Regions from separate parts of the Homo sapiens genome. Here regions 1 and 2 are each linked to region 3. Evidence: promoter capture Hi-C in human tissues and cell types (Jung and others, 2019). All regions are on one chromosome and are shown on one strand. The core of a region is centred on a gene start or on the middle of the fragment in contact, and the rest is flanking DNA. Distances in the headings are between cores, read along the strand shown. Region 1 has its middle 130 kb from the start of KDR. Region 2 has its middle 60 kb from the start of SRD5A3. Region 3 holds the start of KDR (kinase insert domain receptor).

Region 1 (4,680 bases), core at 409-2,908, 130 kb before region 3:
GCATAGTATTTCTTGAGGTTATATAGTTTACTTCATAGGTATTTATGTGGTTTATTAATGTTTACATGTTATTACTCCATATTCTTTTATCCAAGATACATCCTCTTTGTGTCTTATGACATATTTTACCTTGAATTCTGCTTTTTCAGATATTATAATACCACTCCATCTAATTTGATTCATGTTTTATCTAATATAGCTTATTACATCCTTTTATTTTCAAATTTTTGATATCCTATTTCAGTGTGTTTCTTACAGACTGCAAATTGTTATAATCTTTTTATTATTCTGAAATTCTCTCTTTATATTGATAAAATTAAACCATTTGTATTCATTATAATAATTTTAATACTATAACATTTCTGCCTTATTTTATGTTTTCAATTTATTGTATTTTTTATGATGTGTGCTTCTTTTCTCTTTTCTCGCCTTTTCTCCTTTCTTTAAAAAGTACACATTCTTTTTTTAAAATATAAATTTTTTAGGTTTATGATGTTTGACTTTAAACTAAGGCCCATTTTGTGTTTATTTCTATTAATTTCCCAATTACTCGTATATCTCAATATCCTTTGAGACATCATTAGCTTCTTTCATTTCTTATTTTTAAATGCTGCAGTGCTCCAAGACCCAGTCCTCATTCTTCTCCATCCTTACTCAGTTCCTAGGAAATCCTATTCAGTCCAATGGCTTTAAATATTAATTATATACTGATGAATTCCACATCGTTACCAGGCCTCCAAACCTGTGTATACAACTTCTTCTTCAGTATCTCTGCTTTAATGTTCACTGTGGACCTCAAATTTAACCTGCCCAAAGTAGAAGGTTCATTTACTTCAAGGTTGTATAATTGTGGTCTCCTACAGTATCTCCAAAATCCTAGGGGTTTTCTTTGGTTTCTCGTTGTCTACTACTTCACATTAAAATCTTCAACAAGACTACCATCTTTATGTTAAATTATATTCCCAATCTGCCCACTTTTGTCACCTCCACAGCTATCACCCTCGTCCATATCACTATCATCTCTCACCTGGATCATTGTAATTACCTACTAACTGTCCTCACTGTCACCTCATTTCCACTATTGCCTAACACCCCCCAACCGCCACCTCCATAATATATTTATCTCCACAAAGATCTATTTTTAACAGAGAAAATAACACTGCTCCCATACTCAGAGTCTTCTGCTGACTTCCCATCACGATTACATCCAAACTCCTTACCATAGCCTGTTAGGAAAGTGGACATATAATTTATCCATCCAAACCAGGCAGTGTTGAGACTGAAAGAGGCTCTATTAGTAAAGACACCGGGAACAATGACAACTTTACAACTTGATTCCTCCCCTACTCCCTCAGCTCCAACATGCTGCTCTGTTTAATCGTTCCCACAACAAGGTCTTTCATGAGCAAAAATTCAACAAGGATGTATCAAATGCGGAGTATGTGAGGATGCAACAGTGAACACAACAAAGTTTCTCATTTCATGGAGTTCACATTCTAAAAGCTTCTTCCATTTGGAAGACATCCTCCAGATTCTCACACAGCTTAAGCATTCATATTATCCAAATATCTGGTCAAATGTCCCTTTTTAGAAAGATATTCCCAGGATATCCTGCTGCAATAGCCTGACTAACCATCCCATCAATCTCTATCACTAACCCTGATTTATGCTTTTCATGTTTCACCTGAAATTATATTATTCCATTAATTGTTTTCTTATAGCCCGTGTACTATTAATAGTTTGTTCTTGTACTACTATAAAGAAATATGCGAGACTGGGTAATTTACAAAGAAAAGAGGTTTAATTGACTCACAGTTCTGCAGGCTGTACAGGTTGGGGAGGCCTTAGGAAACTTTCAATCATGGCGGAAGGTGAAGGAGAACCAGGCACATCTTACATGGCTGGAGTAGGAGGGAAGAGAGATAGGGGGAGATGCCACACACTTTTAAACAACCAGATCTCCTGAGAACTCACTCACTATCATGAGAACAGCAAGGGGGAAATCCACCTCCATGATCAAATCCTCTCCCACCAGGCCCTACCTCCAATATAGGGGGTTATAATTCAAATGAGATTTGGGTGGGGACACAAATCCAAACCATACCAGCCTGTCTGTCCCTTAGAATGTAAGCTTCAAGAGGACAAGGATGTGGCCTGCCTTAGTCACTGCTGTATCCCCAGCTCCTAGAACATTCCTAAACCATCAATATGTATTGAATAAATAAATAATGAATAGTTCATTGGGGACATTAAATTTATATGAAACTTTCCCTTTGGGAACATTTAACTATGTTATTCAATAATATTTAATAACAGCCAATTCCCCAGAGGTATCTACAGAGAATATCTCTATCACAATCATTTTTCTTGAAACAACTTTTTCCATGCATTCATTTCATATAAATGGCTGTTCTCTCTGCACTGAAAGTTGAACAAGACAAATAGAATTCACGTATAAATCTGAATTCTCTTAGCATCGCTGAAACCCAGACGAAAAGCACATGTGTGAAGAAGCTGGTGAGGCTTTCCCTTTCATGGGTCTTCTATGGCATATATTTATCCACCAGTCTCCTGAATGAAAGGCTGCACTTTTTAAATTCCAAACTAAGCACTTCAAAGGAAGAGCCTCCTGCTTTCCTAAATATGCTTAGTGCAAAAGATTGCATTGCAAGGGCTATCTGGGGGCATTTCTACCTGTGGCCAAAATCCAAATGTCTTGAGGTTTTTTTTTTTTTTTTCAGATTATTGTTTATATGCTTCAGATTGTTTATATGCTGCATATATGTTTATATGCAGATAAGCATATGAGAGAGAATGGGCTATAATTATTAAATAATGAAAACAATTTTTCCACACAACTTATGAATATCATCCTCATGAAGATTGGCTAATCAAATGTTTCTCCCTGCATTCTGCCAAGAATTTAATTAAAAATGGCTTTGATGGTGTGTATCCAAGGAAAACTAATTCCTGGTTTTAACTAAGGAATAAATGAATACTTAAAGCAGGTTGCTATGATGGACCAGGAGTGCACAAGTAGAGTTTTGTTTTGTTTTGTTTTGTTTTTTGTTTTTGTTTTTGTTTTTTTGAGATGGAGTTTTGCTTTTGTTGCCCAGGCTGGAGTGCAATGGCACAGTCTCGACTCACTGCAACCTCCACCTCCTGGGTTCAAGCGATTCTCTTGCCTCAGCCTTCCAAGTAGCTGAGATTACAGGCGCCCACCACCATGCCCAGCTAATGTTTTTTGTATTTTTAGTAGAGACAGGGTTTCACTATGTTGGCCAGGCTGGTCTCGAACCCCTGGCCTTAGGTAATCCACCTGCCTCGGCCTCCCAAAGTGCTGGGATTACAGGCATGAGCCACTGCACCCAGCCACAAGTAGGATTTTGACACATTGAACTGGTTTGCATGCCAAATCTAGTCAATGGCTTAAATAAGTTGTTGAGAAAGATGTTTCTTTGGTGCAAAGAATACAGAATAAGAAAAGTGAAAATATTTGATTCAACAAACTTTTTGAGAGTTACCTATCAAATACTCCATGGAAAGCAATACTGCTCAGACCACTACAGTCGCCTTGCATTAAGCATCTCATGATCTCCATTTCAATCATAATACTTCTTCAGATGAATTTTATTCATGTATTTCATTCCACTCTTACCTGATTCCCTATAGTGTCTTTGTATTATTGCCTTGGACTGCAGCTATGCTTTGGTGGCAAGAATGTAGCCTGTGTTCAAGATCAACTTGAACAGGTTAAACTTTTCAATTGGCTGCATAAAGTTTGGCAGGCACTTAATCTGTCTCAGTTTGCTCAGTTTGTTACACCACAAAATGCAGCTAGTGATACCTACCTATTGGGTTGCTATGAGGGGTGAGTGTGACCATATATGGGAGTATTTCTCAATGATCAATGGCATAGGCAAGACCAGAATCAGGGTGAGATGAATGAGAAGCAACATTTAAGAGGACACCAAAAAACTACCATCAGGATAAATATTTTAATAAAATATGTTGCAGAAATCTAAATCAATGGAAAAAATCCATGATGAACAAAATACCAAAAATTCAGGCTCTGGATATGAGAATATGAGAGATATAACAGTATGTTTGATAGAGGTATAACAGACAAACATTTGACCAGTGGTCTTTCTTGCCACGTCATACGGTTTTAATCCTGTCCTTTACTTCTCAGCAGCTGGCTTCAGAGCATCCATCAGTGTCTGCCTCCTCACTATCCAGCCAGCTGGGAGCTTTTTTCTCCTTGCTATTTGCTTAAATTCTTGCTTTCTCTTCCTTGGAGTACATAGTTGCCTTTCTGACAATTTTCAACTCTTACTCTTCAAGTTCCTTTATTGTCCTGCTAGGGGTGCTCCAGTTCTTTGGAAAAACTCTCTTTTTAGCTCAGGATTTGGTGCCAAGAGTATTTTAGCCTTGTTTTTTCTGATGTTGGACTCCTGCATCAAATGCTGGCTCTTCCTCAAGATCTCAAGTTCAAGTAATGTTGCAAAAAGTGTGCACTCTCAAGTGAGCTGTTCACACAGAGTTCCATTTACTGGTCCATCTAGGTGACAAGCCAATACATACAACCTACAGATTTCATGGAAACACAAAGGCAACCAATGTCTGATTATCAGTTACATGAAGCAAGTTTAGAAGACTAGGTGATATGTCCCTGAGAGA
Region 2 (4,826 bases), core at 811-3,310, 160 kb after region 3:
TTTGCTTATAGCCTTATGGAGGGGGGTTTACTCATATGTTACAAGTTGTTTTTTCTCTTTCTGCTTTCAAGATTATCTTTTTGTCTTTAACTTTTGACAACTTTATTATAATATGTCTTGGTGTAATCTTCTTTGGGTTGATTCTACTGGGGACACTGGAGCTTCATGAACCTGGGTGTTCATATCGCTCCTAAAATTTGGAAAGTTTTAGCCTTCATTTCTTTAAATAAGCCTTCTGCCCTCTTTCCTGCTTCTTTTTTCTGGGACTTCCTAATTGTATATATTGGTTCACTTGATGGTGTCCCATAAATTTGCAGAATTTCTTCACTCTTTTTCATTTCTTTTTTCCCCCCTTCTGACTGGGTAATTTCAAATGACCTACCTTGAAGTTTACAAATTCTTTCTTCTGTTTGATCAAGTCTGCTGTTGAAGCTCTCTATTGCTCTTTTCATTTCACTCATTGTATTTTTCAGCTCCAGAATTTAATTTTTTTTTTTTACATTTCTCTTTGCTCATCTTCTAGCTTTGTTCGTGTATTGTTTTCCTGAATTTACTGAGTTTTCTGTTTTATTTTGTAGTTTGCTGAGCTTCCTTAAAACAAGTATTTTGAATTCTTCATCAGGTAATGTCTAGATATCCATTTATTTGGGGTTGGTTACTGAAAAATTACTGTGCTGTTTGGTGATGTCGTGCTTCCTTGATTTTTTGTTTTTGTGTTTCTTGAAGTCTTACATTGCTCTCTTTACATGTGAAGAAGCAGTGACATCCTTCAGTCTTTGCTGGCTGACTTCAGGATAGAAGGACCTGCACCAGTCAGCCCAGCTAGGAATTCTGGGGTCACTCAGACCTTTTTTATGGATGTACCTGCTTCACTTCTCTTGCCCCTATTTGGTTGGTGGGGTGGGGGGTGGGTCTTAGAATTGTATGTCTTCTTTTGGTCCCACAAAGGCAGGCCAGGTGCAGTGAGCCTCCCATTTATTTTCCCTGGGGCAGTTCCCTGAAGTGTTTAAGATCAAACACCTTTACACCTTCTGCCAATCCTGCAGAGTTGATCTGGCTGTCTGCATGTGTTTGTGCATAATTTGCAGAGACTCACATGCACCATCTGTAAGGGCATGCATGAGATGCCAGCTACAGGAGTGGGGGGCTTGGAGTGCTGGGGATGCATGTTGGCCAGTTAGGGGAGCTGCAGGTGATGTGTTCTATGAGGTTTGTGGGCAGTCCTCTTAGTGAAGTTCTTGAGGCAGTTAGTAGAAACCATGGCCCTTTGTTGAATTCCACTCCCCACTTGTTGTGAGCCCCCACCTTTTTCCTCTGCTCCTTGCTATCCCATGATTATTCAGCTATGCTGATATTCCCAGTGATCTGAGTGGAACAAGACGGAAGTGTGGCCCTGAGCATCATCCTGCATGGTTGGGGAAGCCAGTTCTCACTATGCTGTCACATTCCCCTGTTGGAGAAATTGCAGGCTGAAGGAGTTTCTCTTGGCACCAAGGTGTGCCACATTGGATAGATGATGTGGGTAAAGTGTTCAAAACTGTTTTTCTTAGCCTCTTCAATACATCTATTCTTGATTTTTTGTTTGTTTGTTCCAACAGGCACAGGGATTTCTCCATTGGACTCCTCTACTGGACTCTTGAGTACTCTCATCCACGGGTGATTGTCAGAATAAGTGTTTCTATGGGGAGCATGACGGCTGAAAACTCCTATTCCTATCTTACTTGTATTACCTCAAAGCCTTCCAATTTTAGAGAAAAAAATATTTTCAACCTAGAATTTTATACCTAGTCAAATAATCAATCAGAAAAGAAAAAATAAAAGCCTTATTTGATCATCCAAAAATATATCAAGGAAAAGAGTCACTTTTTCTTAAGAAGTTACAGGAAGACATCCTCCAGCCCAAAAAAGGAATAAAAAAGAAACGAAGGTTTAAATTTGTTTTTGAAATTGAATATAGAGATACAACTGTATCTAGAGGAGAATAAGGGTGGATGAGGTAAGAATATGAGTGAGCTAAATTATCAACAGAAAATGTCTAAATTGGATAAATTAAGAACTAATTCTGTAAATACATTTTCTAGATTTATGGATAGATATCCCAAAAGAACACAAGGAAACTGTTGAAATTGATTGCTTCTGGAGAATGAATGTGGAGTAGAGATCAGTGGAGCTAGGGACTATGACTTTTTATTACAAGCTCCTTGTTCTACTTTGTTTTTAAGCACATATATCAATTACTTTCATTTAATTATTTTTGTTTTAAATACTTTTAAAGATTTAACAATACCTCAAATTATGAACGTCATTTATCAATGTGCAGACACATGATTGAAGTACAAGTTAATAAGTCATTAATATAATTAGAATGTCTCAGTTTTTTTAACTCTAAAATGAAGATATTAATGCCTACATCATGGGAATGTTATGATAATGTATGAATAGAAATTAGCATAATGCCTGACACATCATCAGGTCTCCAAGAATGATAGTTATTGTTACTGGAAGACAGAAGATATGCTTGGTGATTCAGAGCCTAGCTCTGCCACTTACTACAAGCTGTGCAAGCTTGAATAAATCTTATTTTCCTCACCTGTAACTTGAGAATAATAGTAGCCTTGCCTTTAAATAAGTTAAAGCATATAAAATGCTTATCACATCTCCTGTACTTAGTAAATACTTAATAAATGGTAGATATTATTATTAAATAAATTGTAATTGTAATTGTTTTATTTTGATAGTTTTCCTGATTAGATATGTCTTAAGTGACAGGGCACATACAGATTCATTCAGATCCACCAGAAAGGAACTCCTGTCTAGATTTTCTTTACACCCTACTCTACTTTTTAGTGTGGCTAAAAGTGTGGCTCCTGAGCATCATCCTGTATGGTTGGGGAAACTTTTAATATTCTATTTATGAGTGTTTCTAATCCCAAATTTAACAATGAACCAAAGAGAAAACCAAGTAAATTCTTTCCTGAGTACCCCTGTGGGCCCCAGAGGTGAAGAGGAGGAGGAAGGAAGAAAAAAAAGAATCTATATTGCAACTTCTGTTATCAAGGATAGAAAAGCGGGATTGTAATAGGTAAAAAGTGCTTTTTTTTAAGTGCATTAGTGTTTAGTGGGAAATACTGCTCAAATACATGTTATACAAAGTTATTTCATAAATAATACCAGAGAATGTATTATTAATAGAGTCCAAGATAACTTGCAAAAAAATCAGTGGACATTTTTCCTTATCTTCAGAGCAGGGTTTTTCCTGAGTGATCCAAAACGAGAAACATTTATCCTCTGTGAGAGAAGCATGCATAGGATTATTAACCAAAGGCAAGAGAATAAGGGCACAGACATTGTATGCGTGTTCTGTGCCAGACACATATAGTTAACTCATTGAGTGCTCACAAAAAAAACCCTTGATGGGCGTATGTTTGACCAATGAGGTAAATAAGGCTCAGAGACATCAAGTAACTTGTCCAAATGTATGCGGCTGGTAAAGGGTAGGGCAGAGATTTGAACCCATGACTCCAAAGTCTGTGCTCTTTCCATCAGACCTCCCTGGATGTCAGCCAGTCCACCACTGCCTGCTAGAGTGCCCTGGTTGGGGAATCTGGAGACGAAGGTTTAATTCCTGGTTTGACCACTGAATAATTTAGGCCAATTTACCCTTTTAAGGGTTTTACTGACTCTACTCAAAATATAAGAAAGAATAAATTCATGTTTATAATGTACTATGTAAAGCCTAAATATACTTTTCTTTTTAAAATATTCTTATACACAAATAAAAATTATACTCTCAAAAAGGAGTTTAGGAGCCCAAATTAAGGTCAGATTTCAATGTCTCCATTTCTTAACTAACCAGACACCAAATAATGTCTTTCCAAACAGCATAGATAATATTTTCTTGGAGCCTGGAAAATAAATGTCAATACTTGTGGTAGTTTCTGAAAATTTAAAAGTGCTAGCCCCAGTAAATATATACTGGGGAAGAAGGCAATATAACCCAGGCCAATAAATATTCATCAAAAATGCTCACAGAGAAAATATGTGGGAATATGAATGTTTTGATTCAGAAGAAGAAAGTAACTTGATGCTAAGATCAAGCTGGGATAAGACTTTAGCTTAGGCCTTGCCTGGCTGCCTATGATGGCTGGTGCTGCTCACTATTACCTGAGAAGTCTGGGTCAGGCACAAAACTCATATACTTCTAGTGGGATGGAAATGCACTCCACAGATCTAAAACAGCCTTCTTTTTACTACCATAATAAATTGGAGGCCAGACATGGTGGCCCAGCCCTGTAATCCTAGCACTGTGGGATGCCAAGGCAGAAGGATTGCTTGAGGCCCAGAGTTCAAGACCCAGCCTAGGTAACATAGTAAGATAGATCTCTAAAAAAAAACTTTTAAAAAAGAATTAGCCAGCCACAGTGGTGTGCACCTGTGGTCCCAGCTGTTTGGGAGGCTGAGGTGGGAAGATCACTCGAGCCCAGGAGTTTACCGCTTCAGTGAGCCATGATTGCACCACTATACCCCAGCCTGGGCAACAAAGTGAGAACCTGTCTCTAAAAATAAGTAGATAAATAAAAATAGGTCTGGGCAAAGATTTCTTGAGTAATACCCCACAAACACAAGCAACCAAAGTAAATATGGACAAATGGGATCACACCAAGTTAAAAAGCTTCTGCATAACAAAGGAAACAACGAAGTAAAAAGACAACCCACAGAACTAGAGAAAATATTTGTGAACTACCCATCTGACAAGTGTAACCACAATATATGGAGTTCAAACAACTCTACAGGAAAAAAACAAATCATCTGATTTTAAAATGGGC
Region 3 (4,723 bases), core at 188-2,687:
TTCTAAGACATGTGATTCTTGTCTTAGGGAGTAAGAAATTTTTTTCCCTGAATTATTCGACTTTTTTTTTTTCTTTCTCTGACCCTTTCCCCTTTCTCACCCTGCAAAGGGTGGAAATCTGGATATCAGCAAACTGGCTGCAGGAAAGAAATATTATCTAAGGGGTTGAGAGAGAAAGGAAAGTGAGGAAGAAAAGACAGACAGCTATTGCATGAAGAACGTGTGTGTTCCTAATTGAAGGAGACGGAAATTTTAGGCGGCAGGGAGAGGAAGGAATGGCACTAAAGCTAGGTACCAAGGCCCACAGGAAAGGTTTTCGGAGCTTGAACTTCTGACTATGCGCTTACACCAAGGACCACAGCGCTTTGAAAGATGTGCAATGCTTTACGCAGGACAGTTGGCTGTTACTTGGAGACCCTTGGGGAAGCTGTCAAAGCCCCCAGGACAAGTCCCTATTCCCCCCCTTCTTCGCTCTGCAAGGAGAGCGGCGTCCTGCACCAAGGAAGGAAAAAAAGTTTCTCTCCGCTCCAGACCCCACTTCACACAGTGGTGTGCAAGTGTGTTCGAGCATGAAGACAACAACGGGCCGGGTCCCGCAAAGAGGCAGAACCGAGTGTACCGTCCGATCCGGGAGACCCGGCCTGAGATTCCGGCAAGGTTTTCTTCCCCGGGCCCGGACTAGGATGTTGCGCGCAGCCAGACAACTTTTCACCGCCTGTTCTCGCCTGCGGAGGCACCTCCTGCCTGCCAACCCCAGGCGCCTTCCCACCCCAGCCTCCCAAGAGCCTGAGGGTGTGTCGGCATCTCAGGACATGCTCCAGCCGAGGTCCCTGTCGCAAACCAGAGTCCTAGAAAAGGAACTGGGCTAGAGCACAGGCGACCACAGACTCGCTGGGTAATCTTGGGCCAGTCTCTGAGCCTCAGTTTCCCCACTGGTAAATGAAAGATCGCAAAATGTCAAGTCCTGTCCAACTCTCCAGCTCTACGATTCCGAGTTAGATCTGGCTTTCAGGTCCTCTCCGCCCTCACCCGACCTGTCTGCCTTCCTCCTCCAGAGTGGGCTCCTTACCCACAGAGGCGGCCCGGGTCTCCACGCAGAGCCACAGGGCGACGGCCAGCAGCACCTTGCTCTGCATCCTGCACCTCGAGCCGGGCGAAATGCCCAGAACTCGGGAGCCGGTTCTTTCTCCCAGCGCCTGTCTAGAGAAGGAGGCGCGGAGGTGGAACTCGCGGCACCCCGCAGCGCAGGACAGTTGAGCGCACAGGGCTAGGGAGCCCGGGCGCCGACCGCGGCTGCAGGGGCGTCTGCGGGTGCCGGTAGGAGAGGATATCCAGGCTGCCAGACGGACTTTCTGCGGCGCGCAAGTGATGCCCGGCGCAGGCAGAGGAAACGCAGCGACCACACATTGACCGCTCTCCCGGGGTCCCGGGACTCAGTGCAGGGTGGGAGCTGGTGCCGAAACTCTAGAGCGCGGAGGCGGGGCCATGCGGGGCGGGGCCGGAGCGGAGGAGGGGCTCTCCCGTGCGGCCAGCCCCGCCCCTCACCCGGGTACCCGGCGGCGATCTCCAGCTCCCCAAGCCCATTTACATCTCCCCATTTCCCCACACAACTGGACTGCGCTGGGCCCCAAGTCGCCCAGGAGAGAACATCCCAGAGCAACAACTTTGTTTCTGGTGTAAATAAAAAGTACTCGGTAACGGGCGCTGAGCAACTCCAAGATTTAATCGCTTGCCGGTCCCCGAAATTTGGGGAGCATCACCAGGAGCGCTGCGAAGAGCAGCGCTCCCTCACCAGGCGCGTCAAAGTGCAGGACCCTCTTCGCCATCGCGCGCGTCTGAAGTGGCCGAGAATCTGCAGCAGTTTGGAGCCACAAGGGAGAAGCGGATACTCAGCCAAGTATGCCGGGTCGCAAGCTGGCAGCGACTCCTGCCAGTAGTTTTGGTTTTTGTATAAGGGTATTTTGTTTGGCCAGTATAATTGTAGTTTAAAAAGCTGAATCTGGTTGCTCTTAATCAGAAAACGCACTTGCCCAGTTCGCCAACATTCCCGCTATTTCCCAAAATATTTGGCGGCTCCAAGTTTGAAGTGACCTGCCTAGCCCCAAGAAGGCTTTTGTCCATCGTGCTCCCCAACGAAGAGCCCTAGTGAAAGTTTGGCCATGCCCCTTTTCAGAGCAGAGCTTCCAGCCAAGATATCCTTAGTCCCAGGGGAAGGAGGCCAGCTGCCAGCGTGCTTCAGTGGAGGAGCAATGAAGCAAAAGCACCTAGGACACTCTGTGACCAAATTGCACAACTGTCTCCACGTGTGTGGACTTCTTGTGGCAGCTGTTTGGAGGGGAACTCCAATTCCTTCCTGACCACATTCGTTCCTTCTGGTTTTCTGTCCATATCTCCCCACACCTGGGGAGTGACATCAAATGTCCCCTAACTTCATTAAATATGAATCTTCCAGATGCCTATGTCTTTTACCTCCCAGAGGTGCTTTTTAATGACAACCTAAAGGACCATTCTTCACCAAGATAAACACACAGAATTATTATATCTACACCTAATTCAAACTAGATTGATTGTATACAATTAATGTAACCTGTTACTTATCTTCATCTGTTTTTAAATATTTACTGTATTCACGCTTTTACTTTTCCAAGTTGACAGGTGAAATATTTTAATGCTGAAATATAATGAATGTATATGGCAAAAAAAAATTTTGGAAAAACACAAAAAGGCTTAGAGTGAAAAGACTTTTCTTTTGGCAGAGGCATTTTTATGTTTCCTTTTTTTTCCAAGCAGATTCTTAAACACAAGTATGTAGACATGTCACCCTTCTCTTCCCACAATTGCTTGGTATAAATGCTATTTGAGCCTTGGCTTTTTTCCCTTTAAATTTGATTTATTTATTTGAGACAAGGTCTCACTATGTTGCCCAGGCTGGTCTCCAATGCCTGGACTCAGTCCATCCTCCTGCCTCAGTCTCCCAAAGTGCTGGGATTACAAGCACGAGCCACCCTGCCCAGCCTTCACTTTATAATATACACTGGAGATTCGTTCTACATCAACCTTTAAAGCTCCATCTTTTATTTATTTATTTATTTATTTATTTATTTATTTATTTTTATATAGAGGCAGGGTCTCACTATGTTGCCTAAGCTGGCTGCGAACAAAGCTCCATCCTTCCATCTTTTCAATGTTGGCATAGTGCTCTACTATATAGATGTACTCATATTTATCTGGGAGGTATTTATTTGGGGAGGGGAGAGAATCTTTAAAGAAACTCCTCTCTTCCTGCTAGTAAACTCAGCAAATAAAATAGGATGGACTCTGGCAAAGTTGGATAAAGGGGTGGGAGATGGAACCTGGTTTGGAGAGGGCAGTTTTTCTCCATCCCCATCACCAAACAATTCCCTATCAGCCTTATTTACAGTTCATGACACTTCCTCTTCCATGTCTCATTTAAGAAGATAGTGTCTCCTCTGAATGCAAACCAGAACCTGCAGGCCCGTGGTAATAGCCCCCTTTAGAAGTCTTGGAGGAAATGATGCGTCTTTGATGGCCGCAAGACCAGAATTTGGCAGAGTCTCAATGAAATCAGTCTACCACATTCCCTCCCACACAGCACTTAGAAGTGCCTTAGGTTCACAAAAAAAATGGCAAAGTCTGTTAAAAAAAAAAAAGATAGAAAAGAAAGAAAGAAAGGCTGTTCCATGTGCAGCACCCTCTCGTTATCTGGCATTGCAAAGGAGTGACTTTTGTGAGTTAACCCAACAGTAAGGCACCTAGCAAAGTGCCCCAAATGTGTTGAGTGTTCCATAGATGCTATTCAGATGCCACAGCAGAGTAGTAGCTAAGTGCACAGACTCTGGATTTTATTCCCAGATCTACCGCTTATGATCTGTGTGATCTTTACCAACTTACAAGTAACTTATCTATGAAACACAAAAAAAATTATAATAGTACCTTCTTCATAGGGTTCTTACAAGAATTAAAGGAGTTACTGCATGTAAGGCACTTGGAGTAGGCCCCAACACAGCTAGTAAAGATCTTGGACATAGAAAGCACCAGATACACATTAAGAAACATTCTGCAAAGGTTGCTTATACTACAATGCATGGGCTTCTTCATGCTGCTGAGATCTAAACTGCTAAGCAGGCTCATTCATTCAACAGTTTTTGAGCACCTACTATATGCTAGGCATTGAACCAGGAACTGGGGTTACGATGGTGAAAATAATGTCAAGATGAGCTTAAATGAGGAATCATTGTAATAGCCTCACCCAAGACAAATTTAATTTAATCTTTAAGCACTTCTTGTCTCCAGCTACTTTTCTGGGCTTGTACATACAGAATATACATTGTTCATACTCAAAGCACACTGCATAAATTACTCTCCATGATCTCCAAATTTGGTTACATTACCAACAGTATTTTGGACTCCATGTCTTAACAAGTTATATGAAGATTTGTCAAAGGTTAATAACTGTGGAAGTTCAATTGCTTCAAAGAGAATAAAATACCCAGGAATCCAACTTACAGGGGATGTGAAGGACCTCTTCAAGAAGAACTACAAACCATTGCTCAATGAAATAAAAGAGGACACAAACAAATGGAAGAACATTCCATGTTCATGGATAGGAAGAATCAATATCGTGAAAATGGCCATACTGCCCAAGGTAATTTGTAGATTCAATACCATCCCCATCAAGCTACCAATGACTTTCTTCACAGAA

The links. Contacts are between HindIII fragments. The study calls those that stand out against the background at their distance.
Region 1: a contact is called between a fragment that was not itself captured here and the fragment with the promoter of KDR in region 3, in 1 of the 25 tissues and cell types used here (H1 embryonic stem cells).
Region 2: a contact is called between a fragment that was not itself captured here and the fragment with the promoter of KDR in region 3, in 2 of the 25 tissues and cell types used here (H1 embryonic stem cells and IMR-90 fibroblasts).

What each region holds. Positions count from the first base shown.
Region 1 is chr4:54,994,814-54,999,493 of GRCh38, forward strand. No RefSeq gene overlaps it. Among named protein-coding and RNA genes, the nearest start is that of KDR, 130 kb to the right of the region's middle. The HindIII fragment of the contact is 4,605 bases long and covers 1-3,961 here.
Region 2 is chr4:55,284,088-55,288,913 of GRCh38, forward strand. No RefSeq gene overlaps it. Among named protein-coding and RNA genes, the nearest start is that of SRD5A3, 60 kb to the right of the region's middle. The HindIII fragment of the contact is 3,115 bases long and covers 504-3,618 here.
Region 3 is chr4:55,124,158-55,128,880 of GRCh38, forward strand. KDR (kinase insert domain receptor) reads right to left here and starts at 1,438. Exons shown (of 30, transcript NM_002253.4): 1 at 1,070-1,438. The coding sequence starts at 1,136. The HindIII fragment of the contact is 13,799 bases long and covers 1-4,723 here.